5 separate regions of the Homo sapiens genome follow, and regions 1, 3, 4 and 5 are each linked to region 2. The links are contacts of gene promoters, found by promoter capture Hi-C in human tissues and cell types (Jung and others, 2019). All regions are on one chromosome and are shown on one strand. The core of a region is centred on a gene start or on the middle of the fragment in contact, and the rest is flanking DNA. Distances in the headings are between cores, read along the strand shown. Region 1 has its middle 4.0 kb from the start of PYY. Region 2 holds the start of ASB16 (ankyrin repeat and SOCS box containing 16). Region 3 holds the start of FAM215A (family with sequence similarity 215 member A). Region 4 has its middle 16 kb from the start of NAGS. Region 5 has its middle 2.1 kb from the start of TMEM101.

The links. Contacts are between HindIII fragments. The study calls those that stand out against the background at their distance.
Region 1: a fragment that was not itself captured here is called in contact with the fragment with the promoter of ASB16 in region 2 in 1 of the 25 tissues and cell types used here (lymphoblastoid cells).
Region 3: a contact is called between the fragment with the promoter of FAM215A here and the fragment with the promoter of ASB16 in region 2, in 1 of the 25 tissues and cell types used here (aorta).
Region 4: a fragment that was not itself captured here is called in contact with the fragment with the promoter of ASB16 in region 2 in 2 of the 25 tissues and cell types used here (lymphoblastoid cells and mesendoderm cells).
Region 5: a fragment that was not itself captured here is called in contact with the fragment with the promoter of ASB16 in region 2 in 2 of the 25 tissues and cell types used here (lymphoblastoid cells and mesenchymal stem cells).

What each region holds. Positions count from the first base shown.
Region 1 is chr17:43,947,790-43,952,029 of GRCh38, forward strand. No RefSeq gene overlaps it. Among named protein-coding and RNA genes, the nearest start is that of PYY, 4.0 kb to the right of the region's middle. The HindIII fragment of the contact is 8,547 bases long and covers 1-4,240 here.
Region 2 is chr17:44,168,239-44,172,458 of GRCh38, forward strand. It overlaps ASB16 (ankyrin repeat and SOCS box containing 16), which reads left to right and starts at 2,466. Exons shown (of 5, transcript NM_080863.5): 1 at 2,466-2,852; 2 at 3,808-4,075. The coding sequence starts at 2,552. The HindIII fragment of the contact is 17,920 bases long and covers 2,073-4,220 here.
Region 3 is chr17:43,915,582-43,919,500 of GRCh38, forward strand. It overlaps FAM215A (family with sequence similarity 215 member A), which reads left to right and starts at 1,627. Exons shown (of 1, transcript NR_026770.1): 1 at 1,627-2,406. LOC105371787 (a long non-coding RNA gene) reads right to left here and starts at 1,643. Exons shown (of 2, transcript XR_001752898.2): 1 at 1,557-1,643. LOC107985086 (a long non-coding RNA gene) reads left to right here and starts at 3,266. Exons shown (of 2, transcript XR_001752899.2): 1 at 3,266-3,918. RefSeq lists enhancers at 1,449-2,270, 2,271-3,091. The HindIII fragment of the contact is 7,093 bases long and covers 1-3,919 here.
Region 4 is chr17:43,986,881-43,990,824 of GRCh38, forward strand. It overlaps a transcript of PYY not described here. Among named protein-coding and RNA genes, the nearest start is that of NAGS, 16 kb to the right of the region's middle. The HindIII fragment of the contact is 7,936 bases long and covers 1-3,944 here.
Region 5 is chr17:44,015,203-44,018,831 of GRCh38, forward strand. It overlaps a transcript of TMEM101 not described here. Among named protein-coding and RNA genes, the nearest start is that of TMEM101, 2.1 kb to the left of the region's middle. RefSeq lists an enhancer at 1-103 and a silencer at 1,439-1,733. The HindIII fragment of the contact is 5,030 bases long and covers 1-3,629 here.

The DNA of each region.
Region 1 (4,240 bases), core at 1,598-4,097, 220 kb before region 2:
TGGGAGACTGAGGCAGGAGAATTGCTTGAACCTGGGAGGCAGATGTTGCAGTGAGCCGAGATGGCACCATTGCACTCCAGCCTGGGTGACAAGAGCAAGACTCCGTGTCAAAAAAAAAAAACAGTGTTGGGGAGGTAAACAGAGAGGGCAGGGCAGGAAGATTCCTGGAGGAAATGAGGCCTGAAGTGGCATTGAAGGCTGGGGGCAGGGGAAATGCTGTTTCACAGAAGCAGGGCTCTGTGGCAGTGGGACTGAGCACTTTAGGGGCGCACACTGAGAAACTGCAGGAAATGCCACCAAAGGAGGAAGGGGTGTTATGAAAAGCCTGAGTTTCTGGCAGAGAGTTTAGATTTCACGTTTAGTAGAATCAGAACTGCTTCAGGGTGAGATATCTTACCTCTGCCCCTCACTCTATGGCCTCCTGCAAGCCTCTCTCCCTGTCCGCCTTGGGATTCTCATTGCTTCAATGAAGAGATAGGCCCAGATGATTTCTAGATGATATTCAAAGGACATCACGTTCCTAGCAGATAACGTTAGGTGCCCAAATATCCACATTCTCCTTTCATCATCAAAGACTTTGAGATGGTACATATGTAGGTTTGTTATATAATAAAAAGATAATCTGGCTGGGAGCGGTGGCTCACACCTGTAATTCCAGCACTTTGGGAGGCCGAAGCGGGTGGATCACCTGAGGTCAGGAGTTCAAGACCAGCCTGCCCAACACGGTGAAATCCTGTCTCTACTAAAAATACAAAATTAGCTGGGCCGTGGTGGTGTGCGCCTGTAATCCAGCCTCCTCGGGAGGCTGAGGCAGGAGAATCACTTGAACCCAGGAGGGGGAGGTTGCAGTGAGCCGAGATTGTGCCATTACACTCCAGCCTGGGCAACAAGAGCAAAACTCTGTCTCAAAAAAAAAAAAAATCCATTTATAAATTTAAAAAAATTTTAAAAACAAAGAGCTTAAGATGAGCACACAGCCACTCAGCTAAACACATCTCATAGGTTGTCTTTGCAACTAAGTGGGGCCATGAGACCAGGCTTTAGCCAATGGGCTGAGAGTTAAAGTGATTTTTGCCATTCCGTTTTTAGGAATGGATGTGCCTGCCTATGGCAGATTATATTTTTCAAAGATGACAAAAAAAATCTCCTATCTCATGTGTAATTCTACAGTGGGGTCTGTGTCCCCTCTTCTTGAATGTGAATGCACTTGTGACTGCTTTGACCAACAGAATATGGGATATGATGCCTTATCTCCTGAGGCTGGGTCACAAAAATGATTGTCATGAGTTAAATTGTGCCCCCCCTGAAATTCATATGTTCTAATTCATAAGTCCTAACTCCCAGTACTTCAGAGTGTGACCTTATTTAGAAATGGGGTCTTTGCAGATGTAATTAGTTAAAATGAGGTTGCCAGGCGCGGTGGCTCACGCCTGAAATCCCAGCACTTTGGGAGGCCAAGGCGGGTGGATCACAAGGTCAGGAGTTTGAGATCACCCTGGCCAACATAGTGAAACCCCATCTGTACTAAAAATACAAAAATTAGCCGGGTGTGGTGGCGCGTGCCTGTAGTCTCAGCTACTCCAGAGCCTGAGGCAGGAGAATCGCTTGAACCCGCGAGGCGGAGGTTGTCGTGAGCCTAGATCATGCCACTGCACTCCAGCCTGGGCGACAGAGCGAGACTCCATCTCAAAAAAAAAAAAAAAATGATGAGGTCATACTACAGTGTGTGAACCCCTAATCCTATAGGACTGTTCGCCTTTGAAAAGGGGAAATTTAGACACAGAAACAGCCATGCAAAGAGGGAAGATGATGTGAAGAGGCACAGCTCAGACACCCATCTTCAAGGCAAGGAGAGAGGCCTGGAACAGATCAGAAGGAATCAACCTGCCAACTCCTTCATTTCAGACTGCTAGCCACAGGAACTGTTGTTTAAACCACCCAGTCTGTGATTCTTTGTTATGGCAGCCCTAGCAAACTAACCAGCAATGCCATCTTCATCTGATTCTCTTTAAATACTCCAAGCAGGAGACCAGTTACCATTTAAGTCCAACTACCCCAAGAATATCAGACTGGGGAGGCCACATGTAGGTACAATGGTCAACAGCCCCGGCTGAACTCAACAGCCAGCACTAGCATGCGAATGAGCCTTCTCAGGCATCAGCCCAGTGGATCCTTAACCACAACCCTGCCAACCTCTGATAGTATCCGCATGTGAGACTCAAAGCAAGAACTGCCAGGGGGAGCACTTCCTGATCCTGACCCACAAAATCCTGAGTGATGTACAATGGTTGCTTGAAGCTGCCAAGTTTTAGGGTAACTTATTATACAACATAGTAACCAGAGTGCTTACCTTCCCCTTCCCTCCCTTGCCACTGGCCGGAACACAGATGAGGCCATGGTGGGCTGTCTTCAGTCCTGTAAATGACATAGATGAGGGCATGGGGAAGCCACAAACGAGGAGCCTGGGCTCTTGGATGCCCTCATGGAGCACAACTGCCAACTCCCCACGTGCCACTCACATTTCATGCAAGAGAAATAAATTTCCATCTTGTTTAAGCCACTGTTAATTCCACCTGTTTTTTTTTTAAGCCAAATCAATATCCTAGTAATATGATATATGTAAAACAAACAGCTCAGTGTCTCGCACATAAATAAGTGCTTTTTGGAAAAAATAATTATTGCTATTGTCATTATTATTATACTAATAATAATTATTAATAATGTTATTACCCTAAACTGCTCAACACTCCTCAAAATGAACATGAGGTGGACCCATGTCACTGATGGTCAATGAGACATGTCAAGCTGGGCAGAAATTGTCTGTGGTCATGCCTAACTCATACCAGGTCTCTCTTCCATCCGCCTTAAACTGACTATAGCTCTCCCAGGCAGACCAATAGACAGGGGATCATGGACACCAACACACAGACACATCCTCCCACTCCCCACCCACACAATGAACCAAAGCTCAGGGCAGCCACTGTGTGCTCTCGTCCCACCTGTCCTGTTGCAGGAGAGAAGACAGGAGGCAAAATAGGATGGAAAGTGGGTCTAAGATAATGAGTGGGGAGAGGGAGTCAAAGAAACTAACTCCATCCCCAAGAAATCAGGCAAGGCTTCCAGGAGGAGGTGACCACTATCCTGAGAGTATCTTCCAGGCTTAAGAGAGGGAAAGGGCTCTGCAAGGAGGTAAAGTGGCCTGGGCAAAGGCGCAGAGCATCAGAATCCACATAGCCAGTGACCTCCACCTGCCTCCTCTGCCTCATCCTTTCAGCTCTACCTCCAGGGAGGCTGGAGGGCAGCACAGGGGAGGGTGGGTGTCAGAGCCCTGTGGCCCCCAAGGGACCTGTGTCCAAGCAGGGAACTTCTCTGCAGCTATGGCAGAGTCAGCTTTAGAGTCTTCTCTCCTTCCAGAACCATTGAACTGCAAATACTCCTTAAAAACCCTGATCCAGCCCAGGCGCGGTGGCTCACGCCTGTAATCCCAGCACTTTGGGAGGCCGAAGCAGGCAGATCACGAGGTCAGGAGATTGAGACCATCCTGGCCAACACGGTGAAACCCCGTCTCTACCAAAAATACAACAATTAGCTAGGTGTGGTGGTGAGAACCTGTAGTCCCAGCTACTCGGGAGGCTGAGGCAGGAGAATCACTTGGACCCAGGAGGTGGAGGTTGGAGTGAGTCAAGATCGCACCACTGCACTCCAGCCTGGGCGACAAAAGCAAAAACTCCATCTCTAAAACAAAAAACAAAACAAAAAAACCCCTGATCCGCTGCAAGGATGCCCCCAGCCTTCCTGTCGTTTTTCCCCTCTCTGGGTCACAGGTTTTGAAGTCAACCTGATTTCCCCCCTCATCTCCTAGTGCCCTGCTTCAGATTTGGGCAGGTCTTGCTGAACTGGAGTCCCAGAAGAGAGCCCACAGATACAGGAGGCTGTGTCCCAGGAAGGAGACATAGGCCCTTCCTTCTTGAGGCCCCAGGAGGGAGACAGGACACAGAGACATAGAACTCTCAGTGAACAGAGCAGAGGCCCTGAGAGCTGGGCAGTTAGAGAGGGCAGGAAGAGTGCAATTGGGCAATCAAGGCAAGCTTCTTGGAGGAAAGGGGCAGGGAAGGGTGGATGTCAGGGGAGATCAGTCTGCAGGCAGGCTCTGGAATAGGTACAGAGTGGTGAGGGATTCGAGTTGGATTCCAGTTTAAACATCCACAGAGCCTTTAGGCTTCAGTAGCTAGTCCAGGGG
Region 2 (4,220 bases), core at 1,216-3,715:
CAGAAGGGATATGGCCAGAGGAAGAAACACCAGGTGAAAGACTGAGTTGATCCAGGTTTAAGGCATTACATCGAGGGGCTGAACTTGAGACAGTCCCTGAAAATGTAAGAACAGGAGCTAGAACTTGCTTATGGGAAGGGCCTAGGGAGAGGAAGAAATAAAAGATCACTGGGCAAGGTGCTGCTGCAGGGCCAGGAGGCAGGACAGGCAGCGGGAGAAGGGCCAGGAGGAGCCCCAGATGCAGAGGGGACAGACCAGCCCTGCCTGCAGGCCGCTGTGCACTGAGTGAGCTCAGGGTGAGCAGAGCTTTTGAGCCCTCCCCTTCCCCAGCTTGGCAGGCACACCAGCTTGTGTGGTTTCACGGCTTCATTCCTCCCCCTAGAGGCTCCTGGAAGCACAGCTGCTTTCTCCTAAGAGTGAACAGGTCTGTGGCTTAAACATCTTAGGTCCATTCCCAGAGTTTCCAGCTCAACCCCTTGGCTCTCCTCAGGCCGGCCATGTGAGCCCCCTTAGCAGCTGGGTTAAAAAAATAAATCAAGGATGATTGAAGGTGCTGGGAGCTGTGGCTCACGCCTGTAATACCAACACTTTGGGGGGCCGAGGCGGGCAGATCGCCTGAAGTCAGGAGTTTCAGACCAGCCTGGCCAACATGGCGAAACCGACTACTAAAAATACAAAAATCGGCCGGGCGCGGTGGCTCACGCCTGTGATCCCAGCACTTTGGGAGGCCGAGGCGGGCGGATCACGAGGTCAGGAGATCGAAACCATCCTATTCTTGGCTAATACGGCGAAACCTTGTCTCTACTAAAAATACAAAAAATTAGCCAGGTGTGGTGGCAGGCGCCTGTGGTCCCAGCTACTCGGGAGGCTGAGGCAGGAGAATGGCGTGAACCCGGGAGGCGGAGCTTGCAGTGAGCCGAGGTCGCGCCACTGCACTCCAGCCTGGGTGACAGAGCGAGACTCCATCTCAAAAAAAAAATAATAATAAATAAAAATACAAAAATCAGCTGGGCATGGTGGCATGCACCTATAATCCCAGCTACTCAGGCAGCTAAGGCAGGAGAATCACTTGAACCCCAGGAAACGGAGGTTTCAGTGAGCCGAGATCACCCCACTGCACTCCAGACTGGGTGACACCATGAGAAAAAAAAAAAAAGGATGATTGAAGGCAGTTTCTACAGACTAGTCTGTCCTGCTTGGAGAATGGGGGAGGCTGCCAGGTGGCTGCAGCAGCTGAAGGCAAAAAGTGTACCATCTTTTTTTTTTTTTCTTCTTTTTTTAAGAGATGGAGAGGCAGGGGGTGGTGGCTCACGCCTATAATCCTAGCACTTTGGGAGGCCGAGGCGGGCAGACCACGAGGTCAGGAGTTCGAGACCAGCCTGGCCAACATGGTGAAACCCTAAATTAAATCTCTACTAAAAATACAAAATTTAGCTGGGCATGGTGGCGGGTGCCTATAATCCCAGCTACTCAGGAGGCTGAGGCAAGAGAATCGTTTGAGCCCGGGAGGCGGAGGTTGCAGTGAGCCAAGATCGTGCCATTGCACTCCAGCATGGGAGACAGGGTGAGACTCTGTCTCAAAAAAAAAAAAAAAAAAAAAAAAGATATAGGTCTCACTGTGTTGCCCAGGATTGTCTCAAACTCCTAGGCTCAAGCAATCCTCCTGTCTTGGCCTCCCAAAGTGCTAGGATTACAGGCATGAGCCACCATTCTTGGCCCAAAGCACACCATCTATGTGGGGTCCTGGCTCTGCCTCTCACAAACTGTGACCTTGAGCCAGTAGATTACTTTGTTAAGCCTTAAATTCCTCATCTGTAAAACAGAGATAAGACCACCCATCTCAGGGGCATTCAACTGTGATAATTTCATTTATTGTCCAAACCAAGTTTACTAATTATTGGGTGGGCTGGGAAGTATGATCCCCTGGGTGAAGGTGGATATGAATGTGATTTAAACACCGTGAAACTCTGTGCATATGTACAGAGTTATTGCTGTTACTGCAGATGCTGGGAAGAGCTGCTCACCTTCTCAGTAACTCTGCCTTGACCTCCCCTTACCTCCTGTGCTGAGGTCAGCCCTCTCTCCTCCACGTGGGCCAATGGTGGCTCCTGCCCTCCAGCCAACATCAGAGAGGCTGGAGGCACCTTGTCTTCCTCCCAGCCCTGCCCATCTCCATGACTGACCTTTTTGCGCACCCTGGACCTTGCCAACCCAAGATGCTCGCTCTAGAGATGAAGGTGGATGCAGATGCTGGGGTTCGGGGGTGGCCTCAGCTGAGGGCCTGCTGACCAACCAAAGGGTATCGGCAGGGGCAGGGGCTGGCCCTCACCCTGGGCTGGGGGTTGGGCCAGCAGCTTCTCAGCACCAGGATCATGACTCTGAGCAAACCATGTTTACCAGAGCAGCAAAGGACCTATTTATAGCCTCAGCTGCTGCTTTCTCTGGCTCACGGTGGCGGGGGCAGGGTGGCTCCTCAGAGCAAGGGAGGTAGTCGGGTCGAGGGAACCTGGCTCTGCCCAGGTGCCACTGCCCAAACCCCTGGGCCCCATCCATGGCAAGAGAGACCTTCCCCTTCACCTCCTCCATGCTGCGCTCTCTCCGCCTGCAGCAGGAGTGGCTGGAATGGGAGGACCGGCGGCGGGCGGCTGCCCAGCAGTGCCGGAGCCGCAGGTGCCCGTCAAGTCCCCGGGCCCGACTCACTAGGCCTCACCGTTCCTGCCGAGACCCAGCTGTCCACCAAGCCCTCTTCTCCGGCAACCTGCAGCAGGTCCAAGCCCTGTTCCAAGATGAAGAGGCCGCCAACATGATTGTGGAGACTGTGAGCAACCAGCTGGCCTGGTCGGCTGAACAGGGTAGGGGGCACCAGAAGAGGGCAGAAGAGGAGGGAGAAAGAAGGGGAGTGGGTGGGGAAGGGGGAGAGTCTAGGCCCCTCCTTCCCTGCAGACCACAGACTATAGCAGCCCTTTCCACCACCTATCCTAGCTCCCTCCTAAACAGAGATGAGGCAGGGTTAGCAGTCTGTATGTCTTTTAAGAATTAAAAGTTGACCGGGCACAGTGGCTCACGCCTGTAATCCCAGCACTTTGGGAGGCCAAGGCAGGCGGATCACGAAGTCAGAAGTTTGAGACCAGCCTGACCAACATGGTAAAACCCCATCTCTACTAAAAATAGAAAAATTAGCCGGGCATGGTGGTGCGCACCTGTAATCCCAGCTACTCAGCAGCTGAGGCAGAAGAATCACTTAAACCCGGGAGGCGGAGCTTGCAGTGAGCCAAGATAGCGCCACTGCATTCCAGCCTGGGGGACAGAGCGAGACCCTGCCTAAAAAAAAAAAAAAAAGAGACAAGGTCTCACTATGTTGCCCAGGCTCATCTCGAACTCCTGAGGTCAAGTGATCATCCCGCCTTGGCCTCCCAAAGTGCTAGGATTACAGGTGTGAGCCACCACCCCAGGCCCCAAGGTGAACAAGCCTTTGACACTATTAGCCATTCAAAGACGCTGAGATTTCCTTAATGGGAGTCACTCTACTTAGTTGGCCCCTGTGGTTTTATACAGCAATTAATTTTTTTATGACACATACTATGTTTTGTTACAGATTGATAAGCTGTATTAAAAGGCTGTTCCAATTTATTCTTCCACTTCAGGACTTGAATAAGCCCCCTTCCACAGGTACAGCCTGGCAGTGTTTGTGCTCAGCAAACCATGCAGAGGGAAGGCCAGTGTCAGCTGTCAGCTGGAACCAGCATCCCCACTCCCTGCCCTGCCCTGTCTTATACACCACCTCCCAAAACTATTTGCTCTCCCTAGGGTTCTGGGTGCTGACCCCCAAGACCAAGCAGACGGCACCCCTCGCCATCGCTACAGCCCGAGGCTACACAGACTGTGCTCGACACCTGATCCGGCAGGGAGCTGAGCTGGATGCCCGTGTCGGGGGTCGCGCTGCCTTGCATGAGGCCTGTGCCCGAGCCCAGTTTGACTGTGTGCGGCTGCTGCTGACCTTCGGAGCCAAGGCTAATGTGCTGACTGAGGAGGGCACGACTCCTTTGCACCTCTGCACGATCCCCGAGTCCTTGCAGTAGGTGCCTGGGGGCTGAGACAGTTTGGGGAGAAATGTGTGTGTGTGTCTCCAGCTCACAAGGCCAGAAGAGGGAACCTGACAACCACATGCAGCTTTGTGGTTCATAAAGCACCGCATATACACATCTTCACAATAACCTGGA
Region 3 (3,919 bases), core at 377-2,876, 250 kb before region 2:
TCCTCACAGTCCCTGGCATTGCATCTGAGAGTAGGGGCAGAGCTAATGCCATCAGTAGGAGTCACTTTTGTCCCCTAACTTAGGGGAGACTGTCCTGTCCTTACAAAGGAATGTGTAAGCACAGCTGATCAACATCTGCATAAGGAAAGATGTTTCTTTATGCATTTCTGGCTCCATCGAGACTCGTGACTCAACCAGTCCTGTGGCTGCCAACCAGAAGCAGACTCAGCATTCAAGGACCATTTTCCATACCCCTATATCTGCATGCCCAACCAATCAGCAGCACCTCTACCCTACCCTAGACCCTGCCCACCAAACTATCTTTGAAAAACTAATCTTCAAGTTTTGGGGGAGACCGATTTGAGTAATAACTATTTCCTGTGTGCCCGGCCTTGTGTCAATTACTCTTTCTTTACTGCAATGCCATGGTCTCAGTGGATTGGTTTTGTCTGTGCAGTAGGCAGGAAGAACCCATCAGGTGATTACAGTACCTGCACCCCCAACCTGCTTTGGGAAGAATCCAGCCAAAAAACTTGAGGCCTGCAGCCTCAGGGTGAGAACAAGACAAAAGGGGGATGGAGGGAGATTGACTCGCTGTGTCTCAGCTCCAGAGCAGCCCCCCTGCAGCCTCCCAAGGGTTTATGCAAATCATCAAAGGGATTCCTTGAGGCAAAAGGTTTGAGTCTGCAGTTCTGAGACCCCCAAGGATGTGAGGAGAGACCCAGGCCTATCTCCTTTGGGAGGGGCCCCAAACTTGGGGGAAGGGATACTGGATGCCAACTGAAACCCAAACATAAAATTCTAAGCTCACCCAACCATCTGAATGGACTCCTCCTCTCCACTCAGCAAAGGGCATTCCAAAGTTAACCTGAAAACTAGTTCAGGCCATGATGGGAAGGGGAGCCCAGTCATGCCTAATTATACGATCCCTCCTTTTGGACTTACTGATAGAACAGACTCTTTAAGTCTGAAAGGAAACATTTACAGTCTATTCTCTCTGAAGCCTGCCACCTGGAGGCTTCACCTGCGTGATAAAACCTTGGTCTCCACAATCTCTTATCTTAACCCAAACATTCCTTTCTGTTGATTTTAAGTCTTTAGACAGTAATTTAACTCTTTCCACCAATTGCCAATCAGAAAATCTTTCGATCTACTTATAACCTGGAAGTCGTCCACTTCCCCAACCCCATTCCAGTTGTCCAGCCTTTCCAGATCAAACCACTGTACATGTCGCATATATTATTGATGTCCGATGTCTCCCTGAAACACATAAAACCAAGTTGTGGCCTGATCACCTTGGGCACATGTTCTCAGGATCTGCTGAAGGCTGTCATGGGCCATTGGTCATGCATAGTAGGCTCAAAATAAATCCCTTCAAATATTTTACAGAGTTTGACTCTTTTGGTTGACACACCAAGCTCAAGCAGGAAGAACCGGGCTCAAGAACTGTCTCTCTCCTTTCTCTCTGTTAGGCATGGGGGGGAAGGGAGTGTTGTGTTAGGCATGCGGAGGGGAAGGGAACAGGGTTGTGTGCAGAGGAAAATGCAAATTCTTACCTTGTCAGGGTCTCTGACCTGATGGCGACCCGTGGTGGAGTCTTCACAGAGACAGATACCACTGCAAGGGCAGACCCAGACTGTGCAACCCCCAAAGCAGGTCTCCTCACTCACCGGGATAGATAGAACTATCGGCCCCAATTCCTCAGCCCTACCTGCAACCACCGCTTGCCATGGTTTCCTTGTGGGTGGAGGGTACTTTCCCGCCCCCTGGTTTCGGGCTTGCCCACGTGGCTTGCTCTGGCCATGGAATGAAGCAGAAACGAAAGCCTGCCAGTTCTGAGCCTACGCCGGAAGACGCCTTGGGCGGTTCCGCGGTCCCTGTGCGCTTCCACCTTCACCCAGAAGGACTTCTCTGGTGCAGCCGCTGCTTCTTCAGCCACGGCCCAAAAGGATCGGAGCCCCCTGGCCGATCCGCAGGTCTGCAGGGAGCCACAGAGCGCAGCGGCCGGCCCAGCGTTCAAGCCCAAGCACAGGCCTGCGAGAACCTTGTTCCAGCCACCGTTTGGGATGGTTGATTAGGACTTGTTGCTGTGGCGGTAGCTCACCAATCCAATGCGTGCACCCGCTCCTTTATTAGGCTATAGGGCCAGTGGCTGCGACAGGGACCTGATACAACAGTGCGTTAAATAAGGAGCTTATTGAGCTATCATGTCGTAAGCCGGTGGAGAAGTCCAGGGCTAGTGTGGGGGCTCCGGCGGGGGCTGTGGCCCCCATCCGCATGGAGCCTCCCCACGGTTCACAGGTCTCGGTCTTCGGAGCCTTCAGCCCCGTGAGCCCGAACAGTCCACACGGCGGCGCCAGACCCTCTTCCCAACGCCACCCTCTGAAGCCTCCGCTCCAACCGTCTCCACTTCTGCTTCAGGCTCAGGATTTTCACTTTTCTCGAATGGGGGTGGCCCTCCCCTGATCTTCTGAGTCGCAACAGCATCTCCCTCCCTCCAGGACCTCAGAGCCAGAGCTGGGCGAGAGGCCCTGACCTCCGGGGTAGGGTGGCAGCATCCCTGTGAAGGTGCGGTCCTGCCTCCCATCCCCAGGCGCCCGGCCTCTCCCACCCTCAGCGCCCTGCTCACCGCCAGCTGAAGATGCCAGGGCACCTCTGCTTCCTCCCTGCCCTCTCTGCAGTATCGCAGAGTGAGCATAAAAGGGCTTAATATAGGCTTCACTGGTCGTGGTGGCTCGCGCCTGTGAACTCAGTAACTTGGGAGGCCAAGGCCGGAGGATCACTTGAGGCCAGGAGTTCAAAACCAGCCTGGGCAACAAGGTGAGGCCTGTCTCTAAAAAAAAAAAAAAAAAAAAAAAAGAAAAGAAAAGAATAAAATAGGTTCCTTTTTCTGGGAGATTGATGTAGGGGAGCGAGCGTGTGTGAGTTGGAAGGGAGGCATTGAGGATCAGCCATTTAAAGCAGCACACAAGGATGTTCAAGGCTAGAGATCCACAGGTGTATTTTCAGAAACTGAATTTCCTGGCTGGGCGTGGTGGCTCACACCTGTAATCCCAGCACTTTGGGAGGCCAAGGCAGGAGGATCACTTGAGGTCAGGAGTTCAAGACCAGCCTGGCCAACATGGTGAAATCTTGTTTCTACAAAAAATAAAAATAAAAATCAGCTGGGTGTGGTGGTGGGTGCCTGTAATCCAAGCTACTTGGGAGGCTACGGCAGGAGAATCACTTGAACCTGGAAGGTGGAGGTTGAGATCACACTACTGCACTCCAGCCTGGGTGACAGAGTGAGACTGTCTCCAGAAAAAATCCCAAAACAAACAAACAAAACCCCTGAATTTCCTTGTGGACACCTTTTCTCTGGCAGCCTTTTTGAATGAGGGCTATGTTTTCTCCAATACTATATGGCCTGCGGACCGCTCAGCTTTCATTCCAGTGAAAACATTCCAGAACAAACTCCGGGTCAATCCCAGGTGTTTTTCCAATCAACTCGGGATGATTGTGTGTCACCTGCCGCCCAGCTAGAATGACACCTCTCCAGGCCTCTGACTTAGCTAGATCTCCACCATGTGACTCCACCATAGACTCCATGCCTTCTTCTTTTGCAAACCCTCGGACACCCAAACACCTACCAATTTCAGCCCTTTCTGTGCAGGTGCCGGAGCCCAGGAAGCACACATCAAGGCTCGCTTGCCAGCAGGGTGCTGCCAATAAAATGTAGTCACATGGAATTTGGAATGTGGAAAGGAGGTAGAAGTCATCCTTTCTTCCCCCGTAGCAGCAGGCGTGCAGGCCTCTGGTGATCAGCTGGACTCCATACTCCCCCACCAGTCACCAGCCTGGGGACTGTGGGGCTGCAAGGACCTCAGCAGCGGTTTCCCAAGTTTTCTGACTTCTTCCATCCTCTGGAAATCAGCTGTGG
Region 4 (3,944 bases), core at 580-3,079, 180 kb before region 2:
ACACTGCTAAGCATTTTACATTTAATCCCACAGCAATCCTATGAGGTTCACATTATTAGCTCCACATTACTCATAGGGAAACTGAGGCTCAGAGAGATTATGCGACCTGCCCAAGTTCCTACAGCAAGTCAACGGCAACACCAGGGCTCAGCTCAGGCCGGTCTGGCCCTGGCCTCATGAAGCCAGATGCTAACACATTCCTCGGGCCCCTGTGTCCACCCCTCCTCTGGTGGTCAGCACAGACATGGTGACCGTGGCCCTGAAACCATGTCTCTATTACCAATATCATCAGACTGGGCAGAGCTCTCCCCTCCCTTGCCCTTATTAATTGCACCTGGAGACTCCTGAGAAAATGGGGCTTCCCTCCCTCCCCGCCGCTGCTCTCTGACTTAATTACTTCTCCTCCTGGCTGTAATGAATGTTTCTGAGCCCCTGAGACTGAGCTTCATCAGAAGCAGCTGCCTCCAGGACTCTAGCCCTGTCTCCCCAGCCCTATTCCTCTGGGCCCAGCCCATCGCCTCTACCCTGGGACTTCAGCTACAAAAGGCATCTGGGCAGGGGAGACTCCCAGCCTCTCAGCCTCCCTGCTACTGATGGAATTCAGCTCGAAGATCAGACCTTGAGAGGTCGACCCATACTGGGGGTTCTGAATCCTCAGTCCCCCATCCAGCAATCTGTCTCCAGGTCTTGGAGCAGACAGCTCAGAATGACCACTCTTCCCAGCTTCCCACATGCCACACCCCTGTGGGGCTGGCATGAAGAGGCCATTTCTTCCCTTTGTTCATCCAACCAACATTCACTGGGCCCCTCGTCTGTGCCAGTCCTTGCTCCAGGCACTGAGAGGAGGCCAGTGCCTGTTGTTCTGAGCAAAACAGACATGGCATGTGCCCTCTAAGAGCTTACAGTCCAGCAGGGAACACAGCCCAAAACAAACAGATGAACAGAGAACTAAAATTAGCAATAGGGAGGGAGGAAGGGGGCAAGGATGGAGAACGAGTGCTTCGGTAGCAGGGAGGGGCAGAGAGCGGTGGGACATATGCCTCCATCTGTCCTGTCCAGTCCCCACGCCGGAAGTCCTCACAGCAGTCTGCTCTGCATCCCTCCTAATTCAGACCAACATGGTCTACTGGACCATCACCTCCAATCACCCAGGGCCACAGCCACACGCCATCCCACTCATCCATCACTGAAATGACCACAGGGAGAGGAGAAGGTGACCCGTGGGAGCCCCAGAGCCACCAAGTCAGGAGGAAGGGCAGCAGAATGAAGACATTTCCTCCTGTTTCTGCCTCTTCATCCTTCCACCAGGGTCTCATCCCACTGCCAATCATCAAAATAATTTCCAGGTAGATTAAAGAGTTAAATATAAAAATAAATTGAACTGTGGAAAACAGGACGAAATGGAATCATCAGACCTCTTGCGGAAAGGGAGCTTTACGAGCGTAAAAGCTCTGGAAGAAATCACAAAAAGAAAGGTCAACAGCCTTGCCCGCACAAGCGTTAAATGGTGTGCATGTCATAAAAGCGTAACTGAAATCACAGATCAGACCACCTCGCTTTGCCAGGCTAACTTTAATTTATCCTCAATTCAGCTCCCCGGGGAAGCTTCCCTGACCACTTCACCTGCCCTGGGTTGACTGCCACCCTGAGCACTCCAGGGCACTCAATCCTCTCTCAGAGCGGAGTTGAAACCATGTTGTGATGATTTCTGTATATTTCCATCCCCATGGACCATGGGCACCTTGACATTTTATTGTTTTGATAATCTCCATGGCCAGCACACAGAGATATTTAACACAAAGTAGAACTCAATAACATCTTTTTTTCTTTTTAGTGGATATTTTCTGGTTCTCTAGCTTTTTTTTTTCTTTTTCTTCTTTCTTTCTGTCTTTTTTTTTTTGAGACGGAGTATCACTCTGTCACCCAGGCTGGAGTGCAATGGCAAAATCTCGGCTCATTGCAACCTCCACCTCCTGGGTTCAAGTGATTCTCCCACCTCAGCCTCCGGAATAGCTGGGATTACAGGCATGCACCAACACACCGGCTAATGTTTGTATTTTCAGTAGAGACAGGGTTTCGCCATGTTGGCCAGGCTGGTCTTGAACTCCTGACCTCAAGTGATCTGCCCGCCTCAGCCTCCCAAAGTGCTGAGATTACAAGTGTGAGCCACCGCACCCGGCCCTAGCATTTTAATTGTAAAAAACACATAACAGGCTGGGCGCGGTGGCTCACGCCTGTAATCCCAAGACTTCGGGAGGCCAAGGCGGGCGGATCACGAGGTCAGGAGATCAAGACCATCCTGGCTAACACGGTGAAACCCCGTCTCTGCTAAAAATACAAAAAATTAGCCGGGCGTGGTGGCGGGCGCCTGTAGTCCCAGCTACTCGGGAGGCTGAGGCAGGAGAATGGTGTGAACCCAGGAGGCAGAGCTTGCAGTGAGCTGAGATCATGCCACTGCACTCCAGCCTGGGTGACAGAGCAAGACTCCGTCTCAAAAACAAACAAACAAACAAACAAAAAACACACATAACATAAAATTTGCCATCTTAATTTTTGGAGGAACTGCCATACTGCTTCCATAGCAGCCACACCATTTCACATTCCCACCCAGAGTACACTAGGATTCCAGTTTCTCCACATCCTCACAACACTTGTTGTTAGCCATCCTGATGTGTGTGAAGCAGTTTTGATTTGCATTTCTCAATAACTGTTTTTTAAATGAAGGAATCAATAGACTAAGAAAAATTCAGATGGCAAATATGACAAAGGGTTAATACAAGGCCAGCATGGTGGCTCCACACCTATAATCCCAGCACTTTGGGAGGCTGAGGTGAGAGGATCCTTTGAGCTCAGGAGTTTGAGGCTGCAGTGAGCTATGATCACACCACCGCACTCCAGCCTGGGAGACAGACCAAGAGGCTGTCTCTTTAAAAAAAAAAAAAAAAAAAAAAAAAAAAAAAAAAATATATATATATATATATATATATATATATATATATATATATATATATATATATATACACACAAATCTATAAGTAAGACATTAGGCTCCCCCAAAGGTAAATGGACATGAACAGACAAGTCCACTAGCAAGGAACCATACCAACATTGGCAACTAAAAAAGGCAAAATGGGATGCCATGTTTTACCTGGTAAGATTTCCAAAATAAATTAATCAAGCTCACAGATGGCAAGAATACAGGAAAACGGGCACACTGGCTGGCTCGTGGCTGGTGAGAGTGTACACTGGCACAACTCTTTGAAAAGCAGCTTCTCGACGGGGCGAGGTGGCTCACACCTGTAATCCCAGCACTTTGGGAGGCTGAGGCGGGCAGATCACTTGAGGTCAGGAGTTCGAGACCAGCCTGGCCAACATGGTGAAACCCTGTCTCTACTAAAAATACAAAAAATTAGCCAGGCACAGTGGCACACACCTGTAATCTCAGCTACTCGGGAGGCTAAGGCATGAGAATTGCTTGAAGCCAGGAGGTGGAGGTTGTAGTGAGCCGAGATCGCACCATTGCACTCCAGCCTGGGTGACAGAGCGAGACTCCATCTCAAAAAAAAAAAAAAAAAAGAAAGAAAGAAAAGCAACTTCTCAAGACTCAAGAGCATTAAAAATATTCATGCACTCTAACCCAGAAATTCAGCTTCTGGGCACTTGCTGAAATATTACTTCTAATGGCAAAAACCGCAATTACTTTTGCACCAACCTAATACATGCAATCGGGAGATACAAGGCACAAAATGTACACCACAGTTCATTTATAATAGCAAAAACTTGGAAGCATCATAAATCTCTAATAACAGCATATTTGATATAAAATTATGAAACATTCCTACAATGTAACACTATGCAGTCACCTAAAAGATGATTACGAAATTTATGATATGAGAAACTAGGATTTAATGTTGTTTTTTTTTTTTTTTTTTGAGACAGAGTCT
Region 5 (3,629 bases), core at 1-2,500, 150 kb before region 2:
TAGCAGAAGTCTTGGACCGTAGTATGATGTATTGAAGCAAACTGGTCTTTGAATGCAGCCCGATCAGGGCCCTAATCCTGATTCCAACCCTGTGTGATTCTGGGCACATCACCTAAACTTTATGAGACTCATCATGAAATGGGGATAATTACACCTACCTCAGAGTTGTGAACTTTTTTTTTCTTTTTTTTTTGTTTTGTTTTGTTTTTGAGACGGAGTCTCACTCTGTCGCCTAGGCTGGAGTGCAATGGCACGATCTTGGCTCACTGTAACCTCCGCAACCTGGGTTCAAGCGATTCTCCTGCCTCAGCCTCCTGAGTAGCTGAGACTACAGGCTCTCGCCACCACGCCCGGCTAATTTTTTGTATTTTTAGTAGAGACGGAGTTTCACCGTCTTAGCCAGGATGGTCTCGATCTCCTGACTTCGTGATCCGCCCGCCTCGGCCTCCCAAAGTGCTGGGATTACAGGCATGAGCCACCGCGCCAGGCCAGAGTTGTGAACTTTAAATGTGACAAGGTCGGTCCTAGTACATAGTAGTGGTTCAATAAATGATACACATAACGCACCAGAGGAAACCCCCGTTTCTGTTAAGATCAAAGTAAGGGGTCCTCCTGGCTCAAAGTCACCTCTTTGGGTTTGCCTTTTGCCTGTGCCCTGAGAGAAAAAGGAGATCTGAACATCTGGGACATCTCAAGTCAGTCCATTTCTCCAGCTGCCATGCTCCCGCTGTAACCCAAATTGTCATACTTTGTCAGTTTAATTGCAGCAGACATCCAGGTGGTCTCTGCATTCCCCTCCAGTGTGTTCTCAGCCCCTTCTCCCACGCCCCACCCGTTTATATGTTCTCATAACATCAGCTACCTTCCTTTGAATCACTTGGCACGGTGGCAATTAGATAGATAGATAGATATAGATACACACGCACACACACACACACACACATATATATATATCTGCTTTACATATATATGCTTTTTTTTTATTTTTGAGACAGGGTCTCACTGTGTCACCCAGGCTGGAGTGCAGTGGTGCGATCTTGGCTCACTACAGCCTACACCTCCCAGGTTCAAGCGATTCTCCTGCCTCAGCTTCCCAAGTAGCTGGGATTACTGGCGCTTGCCACCACACCCGGCTAATTTTTATTTTTAGTGGAGACAGGGTTTCACCATGTTGGCCAGGCTGCTCTCGAACTCCTAACCTCAAGCGATCCAACCGCCTTGGCCTCCCAAAGCGCTAGGATTACAGGCGTGAGACACCGCACCCAGCCAATATATTTGTGATTGTTTTATTGACAATCTTCCCCTACTAGATCGCAAGCTCCCTAAGCACAAACACGGTGCCTGGGTTTCTGTTTACTGTTTACAGATGCTCCTTGACTTGTGATGGAGTTATATCCTGATAAACCCATCATAGGTTGAAAATACTGTAAGTTGAAAATGTGTGGCTGACTGGAAGCTGTGGCTTGCTGACACTGCCCAGCATTGTAAGAGAAATACAGTTTCCACTGAATGCAGATCTGCTTTCGCACCAATGTAAAGTTGAAAACTCCAATGCTGGGAACCATCTGTAGTATACAGGATGCCCTCAGGACCTAGTATACAGGATGCCCTCAGGAAATATGTGCTGTACAGATAAATGAAAAGGTGTTGGGCTGGGCGCGGTGGCTAACGCCTGTGATCCCAGCACTTTAGGAGGCCGAGTCGGGTGGATCACGAGGTCAGGAGTTCAAGACCAGCCTGGCCAAGATGGTGAAACCCCGTCTCTACTAAAAATACAAAAATTAGCCAGACGTGATGGCTGTAATCCCAGCTACTCCGGGCGCCTGTAGTCCCAGCTACTTGGGAGGCTGAGGCAGGAGAATCGCTTGAACCTGGGCGGCGGACCTTGCAGTGAGCCGAGATCACGCCACTGCACTCCAGCCTGGGCGACAGATTGAGAGACTCTGTCTCAAAAAAAAAAAAAAAATTCCCACCAGGCCGGGTGTGGTGGCTCACGCCTATTATCCCAGCAGTTTGGGAGGCCAAGTGGGGGGTTGGATCACCTGAGGTTAGGGGTTCGAGACCAGCGTGGCCAACATGGTGAAAACCCATCTCTACTAAAGATACAAAAAATTAGGCTGGGCACGGTGGCTCATGCCTGTAATCCCAGCACTTTGGGAGGCCAAGGATCACGAGGTCAGGAGATCGAGACCATCCTGACTAACACAGTGAAACCCCGTCTCTACTAAAAATACAAAAAAAATTAGCCAGGAGTGGTGGCAGGCGCCTGCAGTCCCAGCTACTCGGGAGGCTGAGGCAGGTGAATAGCGTGAACACAGGAGGCAGAGCTTACAGTGAGCCGAGATCGCGCCACTGCACTCCAGCCTGGGTGACAAGGTGAGACAACATCTCAAAAAAAAAAAAAAAAAAAAAAAGCCAGGCATGGTGGGAGGCACCTGTAATTCCAGCTACTTGGGAGGCTGAGGCAGGAGAATTGCTTGAATCTGGGAGACGGAGGTTGGAGTGAGCCAAGTTCGCGCCATTGCACTCCAGCCTGGGCGACAAGAGCGAAACTCTTGTCTCAAAAAAAAAAAAAAATTCCCAACCAGCCAGTGAAAGGTGGGCAATAAAACCCCTTTTCACATTTCATTTTAAACCGGCCACTAGGGTCGGGCATGGTGGCTCACACCTGTAATCCCAGAACTTTGGAAGGCAGAGGCACGGGTGGATCACTTGAGGCCAGAAGTTCGAGACCAGCCTGGCCAACATGGCAAAACCCCATCTCTACTAAAAATTAGCTGGGCATGGTGGCGGGAGCCTGTGATCCCAACTATTCAGGAGGCTGAGGCAGAAGGATCGCTTGAACCTGGGAGGAGGTAGTTGCAGTGAGTCGAGATCGCACCACTGCACTCCAGGCTGGATGACAGAGCAAGACTCTATCTCATAAATAAACAAACACAGTCACTAGGATAAGGTCTGGGTAAATCAGAAAGACCATGAGAAGCCAGGCATGGTGGCCCACATCTGTAATCCAGCTACTCAGGAGGTTGAGGCAAGAGGATTCCTCGAGGAGTTTGAGGCTGCATTGAGCTATGATTGCACTACTGCACTCCACCCTGGGTGACAAAGCAAGACCCCCATCTCTAAAAAGTAAAAAAACACGAGAGAGGAACATATAGATGCAAAGAACTAGGGAATGAGATTGTATACGTGTATGTTGGAGGGTGGGGAGGTCTCTAGGCAAGGAGAATGAGAAAAAGTCTGGGTTAAAGGTAATTTTGTCTATCTCTACCCACCAGTGACAACCACACAAAACAAATTTCCTTTACCACAATATAGGCACATAGTACAGAATCAACTTTCCAGTTGGTTTTATTTTTCCAGTCTCCTCACCTCTCCGTTTCAAATGGCTGAGGTGTACAGCCCTAAAGTGTTGACGAGGACCAGAACCAGGATTGTGTACAACATGTCCATAAAATAGTCCTAGGAGTCTGCCTGGGTTGTCCCTATAGGCACAATGCCCCACCCTCCCATCATAACCTTAGCAAGCAGTTTCCAATCAAGTCTCCAGCAGCAGTGGCCAGGGACTTGTGTCAGGGGGAGGGGAAGATTGGATTGAGGAAGCTTGCCTTGGTACCCACTGCGCCCCT